Linked DNA regions of Homo sapiens: region 1 is linked to region 2. The links are contacts of gene promoters, found by promoter capture Hi-C in human tissues and cell types (Jung and others, 2019). All regions are on one chromosome and are shown on one strand. Each heading gives the region's core, a stretch centred on a gene start or on the middle of the fragment in contact. The rest is flanking DNA. Distances are from core to core; before and after follow the strand shown.

Region 1 (3,445 bases), core at 108-2,607, 56 kb after region 2:
TGTCATCCCAGCACTTTGGGAGGCTGAGGCAGGTGGATCACCTGAGGTCGGGAGTTCGAGACCAGCCTGACCAACATGGAGAAACTCCGTCTCTACTAAACACACAAATTTAGCGGGGCGTGGTGGTGGGCACCTGTAATCCCAGTTACTCAGGAGGCTGAGGAAGGAGAATCCCTTGAACTCAGGAGACAGAGGTTGCGGTGAGCCAAGATCGCGCCACTGCACTCTAGCCTGGGCAACAAGAGCAAGATTCCTTCTCAAAAAAAAAAAAAAAAAAAAAAAGGCCGGGCACCGTGGCTCATGCCTGTAATCCCAGCACTTTGGGAGGCCGAGGCGGGCGGATCATGAGGTCAGGAGATCGAGACCATCCTGGCTAATATGGTGAAACCCCGTCTCTACTAAAAATACAGAAACAAAATTAGCCGGCTGTGGTGGCGGGCGCCTGTAGTTCCAGTTACTCGGGAGGCTGAGGAACGAGAATCACTCGAACCCGGGAGGTAGAGGTTGCGGTGAGCCGAGATGGTGCCATTCCACTCTAGCCTGGGCAACAAGAGCAAGACTCCATCTCAAAAAAAAAAAGAAAAGAAAAAAAAGGTGAAGACCCCCATGTACAGCCATGTCCCACTGGACTCCGGATCCCACAGAACGTCAGTGCTACAGGCTGGGGTGCGGTCACTGCCTCATCCTCACCTCCTAGCATGAGGTCTGGTATACACTAGGCACTCAATAACTGCTGAATAAAGGCAGAAATCTGCCAGGTGCAGTGGCTGTCTTCTGTGATCTCAGCACTTTGGAAGGCCGAGGAGGGAGGATCGCTGGAGCCCAGGAGTTCGAGACCAGCCTGGGCAACATAGCAAAACCCCACCTATAAAAATAAAATAAAATAAAGGCAGAAATCATCAGAGCTTCCCAGGAGACCGGCCTTCCTCGCTGTCCCCACAGCCCTGAGGTCGGCCCTGGGTTTGGAGATGGGAAGACTGGGGTTTGCGGGGTGGGGGCCGGAGGCGAGCTGCGGGTCTCGAGTGCCGCTGTGACCTCGGTTCCTCGGAAAGCTCCCCACACATGCTGGGCCACGTGGAGGCTGGGTAAACTGAGGCACAGAAGGGTCAATTGCCTTCCCGAGGTCACTTGCAGCCCCAGAGCTGTCTCCTCCTCTCCCTGTTTCCGGACTAGGGGACAATGATTATTATCAACATGATTATTACCAGCCACCACCTGAGACCATCGATTTCTCAGAAACGCCCGCCTGGGCTCCAGGCGTTGCTGGTGGGGCCTCCCGACCACAGGCCACAGCCAGGCTCCCCCTTTCCGGCCGTTGGCTGAGGGTGGGAGCCACGGCCCGAAGACCTCTGCGGGGAGACGCCAGCCTGCGTCTGCCATGGGGCTCGGGTTGAGGGGCTGGGGACGTCCTCTGCTGACTGTGGCCACCGCCCTGATGCTGCCCGTGAAGCCCCCCGGTGAGGAGCCCCCCGGGATCCCCACCCAGGCCCCCGCCAAGTCCCCGTACGGGGGCCACACCCGGGAACCCCCAGTCCCGGGAGAACCCTGGGGAGAGCTCCACCTGCTCCATCTGCCGAGCCCCCGTGGCTGCCTCTGCTGGAAATGGATGGAAATCCGGCCGGGGTCTCTGCCCAGCCCAGCCCTGGATCTCCCGGGCTCGGGAGCCCCTCCCAGCGCATCTGGGGGGCTTGTCTGGGCTCTGTCTCCAGCTCTCTGGGTCTCTCCGTCTCTAATCTCACCCCCTGTCTCTGTCTTGGCCGCTACTTCTCCCCCTGCCCTGACCCCAGCCCCGTCATCCGTTCCTCCCGCCTCGTCCCTGACTCAGGCCGTCCCTCCAGCAGGCTCCTGGGGGGCCCAGATCATCGGGGGCCACGAGGTGACCCCCCACTCCAGGCCCTACATGGCATCCGTGCGCTTCGGGGGCCAACATCACTGCGGAGGCTTCCTGCTGCGAGCCCGCTGGGTGGTCTCGGCCGCCCACTGCTTCAGCCACAGGTGAGCTCACCTGTCGGGCCCCTTCTTTCTGGACACCGTATCCCGACATGAGGGGGACTCCAGGCTGGTGGGGGAGCTGGGGGCGCCGTGGCTCCTGCAGGAGGGGGAGTCTCAGCAGGGGCTGGATTTAAAGGGCAACAAAGGGAAAACAGGAGGATAAGGCAGGGAGGCAAAAGAAGCACAGAAGAAGCAACAGGCGCAACAAGTACATATTCTGTTACTGTAACTGTCACTATGTTCTTTTTTTTTTTTGAGGCAGTCTCGGTTCCCCAGGCTGGAGTGCAACGGTGCAATCTCGGCTCACTGCAACCTCCACCTCCCGGGCTCAAGCGATTCTCCTGCCTCAGCTTCCCGAGTAGCTGGGATCACAGGCGCCCACCACCACACCTGGCTAATTTTTGCATTTTTAGTAGAGACTGGATTTCACCATGTTGGCCAGGCTGGTCTCGAACTCCTGACTTCAAATGATCCACCCGCCTCTGCCTCCCAAAGTGCTGGGATTGCAGGTGTGAGCCGCCATGCCCTGCCTCGTTTTAAACATATTGTTATAATAACTATTAAAATGTATATTGGGGCCAGGGTGGGTGGGTCCCCTCCTGCAGGAGCCCCCACCAGGCACGGGATAGGTTGGTCCTGGGCTGCAGTGTCCCCAGCTCCCCCGCCAGCCTGCAGTCCCCCTCACGTTGGGACACGGTGGATTGTTTGAGGTCAGGAGTATGAGACCAGCCTGGCCAACATGGTGAAACTCTGTCTCTACTAAAAATACGAAAATTAGGCTGGGTGCGGTGGCTCATGCCTGTAATCCCAGCACTTTGGGAGGCCGAGGCAGGAGGATCACGAGGTCAGGAGATCGAGACCATCCTGGCTAATACAGTGAAACCCCATCTCTACTAAAAATACAAAAAAATTAGCCGGATGTGGTGGCAGGCGCCTGTAGTCCCAGCTACCCAGGAGGCTGAGGCAGGAGAATGGCGTGAACCCGGGAGGCGGCGCTTTCAGTGAGCCGAGATCGCGCCACTGCACTCCAGCCTGGGGGACAGAGCGAGACTCTGTCTCAAAAAAAAAATACGAAAATTAGTTGGGCATGGTAGCAAGTGGCTGTACGTATCCCCAGCTACTCGGGAGGCTGAGGTAGGAGAATCACTTGAACCCAGGAGGTGGAGGTGGCAGTGAGCCGAGATGGCACCACTGCACTCCAGCCTAGGGGAAAGAGTGAGATTCTGTCGGAAAAAAAAAAGTTAATTGTGGTTTTTGCCATTTAATTTTTTTCGTGCAATTACTTTTGCACCAACCTAATATTATCACGGGGCCGGCGTGAGCATTAAATGGATTACTGGGCCTCCATTTCATAGATGAGTGGACTGAGGCCCAGACGGGCAGCCGTCACCCCCATCTCACCCACCCCCTCCTCCCCGCAGAGTCCTCCGCACCGGAGCTGTGCTTCTGTGGT
Region 2 (3,464 bases), core at 898-3,397:
TATCAAATGTCAGAAACTAAAATAGGGGAAACATTGAAAACCAGGCGGCATTGGTGAATAAATCCCACACAAACAGCTGAGCTTCCTCCCAAAGCGTGACGCACAGATGGCTCCCCTGACCCGAGGCCTCCTCCTCCGTGGACGCCGCCTGCCCAGCTCACGGAAGGCCTTGCCTTCTCCCACCCGAAACCGTCAGCCCAGGCCTCGCTCTCGCCTGCTGTGGCCACAGGTCAGCACCCTTCCTGCAGCCCAGAGTCTGGTATACAGCAGGCGCCTAATAAATACTGGCTGGGCAAACACCACTCATCCCAGCTGCTCAGACGTGGGGGTCGGGCTCATTGCGGAATGCAGACCGGCTCCACCGTGCCTTCTGGCCCTGAAGGGCTGGGCAGGTCCACGCCCTGCACCCTGGAGCTCCCCGGGGAGGGCGGGTGTAGGAATGTTTGCCCAGTGAGTGGACAGACGTTTACACAGCGGGATTTATAACCCACATCAGACGTCAACTCCGGGAGAAAGGGAGCTGTCCGCCCAGCCTCGAGCAGGTGCCGGGTCTCCCAGTGGGGTCGGGGTTGGGTGGGGATGAAGGCACGCATCCTCCTCTGCTCATTCCTCCCCAGTGATTCACTGAAGCCAGCGGGTGGGGCCTGGGGTCCAGCTCTTGGGTTCAAGGCCACTGGGCCCCCTCCCCTGCTGCCTGTGCCTCAGTGCCCACCCCCGCCCCCCGCTTTTTTTTTTGAGATAGAGTCTCCCTCTGTCGCCCAGGCTGGAGTGCAGTGGCGCGATCTCCATTCACTGCAACCTCTGCCTCCCGGATTCACACCATTCTCCTGCCTCAGCCTCCCAAGTAGCTGGGACTACAGGCGCCCGCCACCACGCCCGGCTAAGTTTTGTATTTTTAGTAGAGATGGGGTTTCACTGTGTCGGCCAAAAAAACCCCTGGATCCACGGCGGCTCTCATGGCCGGCATTCTTGGGCAGCGGCGCTGCCCTCGGGGGAAGAGCCCCAGGACGGAAGATGGCCCCTGCAAGGCCCGGCGGTGGCTAAGGACCTCGGCGTCCTGAGACTCTTCCTGCAACACCTTGGAACCGTTTTCGACTCCGGTTTTCGAGAGAGGGAGCTGGGACCCAGAGAGGAGAACCTGCTCATCTGAGGTCACACAGCGATGACAGAGCAAGTGTCTGAAGCCAGTTTTCAGACTTTGCTCCAAATCACCCCCTCCTACAGGAAGCCCCCTGGGTTGCTCCTCCCAGCCTCACCCTGAACTCTGTTGATACCAGAATGAAACTGGGTTTATGGACCCTGGTGCCACACCTCCTTCCTCATCAGCCAGTTGGCTCTATGTGAGGGGCAAAGGTTCCCTTGTGGGGCCGAGACTCAGACAAGGAGGCCATGCAGAAGGGAGGGCCCCGTTCCTTTTTCCCATCCCTCAGGGTTGCAGTCACCCTTGAGTCATCTCAGCTCCTTGGGCTCCTGGGCGGAGCTCCACCGGCAGACGCTGGGCCGAGTCCCTGCTGGCTGCCCGGGATCCCAGGCTACCACCTCACCCCCACCCGAGGACCCAGGCCAAGTCCCCAGCCCCGGCCTGAGACTCCTTCCGCCTGTACTCAGCCACCCCTCCTCCGTGTCCCCAAACCAGCCCCCAGCCCCACGGGGGTGTTTACTGCCCAGAGCCTCCCAGTCAGGGGCCTGGTGGGACGGATAAGCATCTCTCCAGAAGCCTCTGGAATTCCCAGAACCATGGAGGGGCCCCTCTGGCCTCTGACCATGGGGGTGCCAACCCGGCCCCTCCCTTGGAGGGCTCTGGGATTTGGGGTTCAAAAGCCCCAGCAGAGTTCAGGGACAAGGGCCTCTCTGCTCTCCCAGTGGGTGCCCTTGAGGCCCCAGAGTACCTAGCGGGGGCAGAGGGAAAGGTGCCTCAGGGAGGCTCCGAGGGTGACGGGGTGGGGCAGGGGGCCTCCCTGGATCCCAAGTGCCGCCAGGCAAGCAGACCCCGCCCACAGACACATGACGCTCCCACGCCAAATGTGGATCCAACCGCCCCACACAGGATCCCCGCCCGGCCCGGCCCGGGGCGCCCCCAGCCTCACCTGCCGGCTCCCGGCTCCACAGTCTGCAGCCTCCACTCTGACTCCTCGATGGGCACAGAGGCCTCCCAGCTCCGCCCTGCCCGCCAGGTTGCCAGGGAACAGAGGCCCCACCCAGGGGAGGCAGGTGTGCCCCCTCCCCCCAGCCCCACCTGGGATCAGGAAACAAAGTCCAGAGGAGGAGGAGGGAGAAAGAGGATACCAGGCTGGGCAAGGGCGGGCACCGTGCCCGCTGCCGGCTGCCCCTCCACCCCCAGGGCCTCCAGGTGGCCCCGAGGAGCCAGAACTCAGCCGAAACCTCCCTTGGCTGCCTGGCCCTCCCACCGCCTCTCAGCACCGCTCAGAGAGGGTCAGCAGGTGTCCAGGGCCACACAGCAGCTCAGCGTGCACAGTGGCCTGTGTCTCCTGGGGGGCCGGAGGGGCTGAGTCCCAATCCCGTCCGTGCCTTCTGGCCCAGCCCACCCCTTGGGGCAACTCCCCTAGATGGCCCCCTTCTTGCATAAACCAGGTTTGGCAGACTCGGGGGGGTTTGGTGTGGCCTGGGTTCTGATCCCACCTGACCTCTCTTAGCCCTGTTTTCTCCTCCGGGACGTGGGGGAACATCACGCCCGGGCTCCCTCAGGGCTGCTGGGAGGAATTCCCTAGGCCCCATCCACATAAAAACCCATACGAGGGGGCCGGACTTGGTGGCTCACACCTGTAATCCCAGCACTTTGGGAGGCCGAGGCGGGCGGATCACTTGAGGCCAGGAGTTCGAGACCAGCCTGGCCAACATGGCGAAACCCCGTCTCTACTAAAAATACAAAATTTAGCGGGGTATGGTGGCACGCTATTATAATCCCAGCTACTTGGGAGGCTGAGGCAGAAGAATCACTTGAACCCAGGAGTTGGAGGTTGCAGTGAGCCGAGATCACACCACTGCACTCCAGCCTGGGCGACAAGAGCAAAACTCCAACTCAAAAAAAAAAAAAAAAAAAAAAAAAAAAGAACCGCACGAGGCCGTCAAAAGACCCAGGCCACCCCGAGAGATGGGGACGCAGAGGCCCTCAGGCGCCCATGGTCCTCCTGGATTCTTAGTCAAGGTGCAGAGGCCTTGCTGGGACTGTGGGGAGCCCAGCATCTGTGGGGAAGTCGGGCCACTGGGCCTAGCGCCGTCTATGAGGGCAGGGAACACAGCTGAGGGGGCAGGGACTTCAGTTCCCCAGGCTGGGGCTCTGTCCTGACCTACGCCAGAGGGGCTGCTTGTGGAGCCCCTCTGAACCTCAGTCTCTTCTTCGAGTAAAAAGGCCCCCAGCTACGAATCCAGCAGGGCTGCTCAGGAGGGGGGTGCTTTTTTTGTGTTTTTTTTTTGAGACGGAGTCTCGCTCTTGTCACCCAGGC

The links. The method cuts DNA at HindIII sites, captures the fragments that hold promoters and counts their contacts. A contact is called where the count stands out against the background at its distance.
Region 1: a contact is called between the fragment with the promoter of PRSS57 here and the fragment with the promoter of MISP in region 2, in 1 of the 25 tissues and cell types used here (dorsolateral prefrontal cortex).

What each region holds. Positions count from the first base shown.
Region 1 is chr19:693,364-696,808 of GRCh38, reverse strand. It overlaps PRSS57 (serine protease 57), which reads left to right and starts at 1,357. Exons shown (of 5, transcript NM_001308209.2): 1 at 1,357-1,457; 2 at 1,842-1,995. The coding sequence starts at 1,379. The HindIII fragment of the contact is 19,970 bases long and covers 1-3,445 here.
Region 2 is chr19:749,795-753,258 of GRCh38, reverse strand. It overlaps MISP (mitotic spindle positioning), which reads right to left and starts at 2,147. Exons shown (of 5, transcript NM_173481.4): 1 at 2,088-2,147. The HindIII fragment of the contact is 28,409 bases long and covers 1-3,464 here.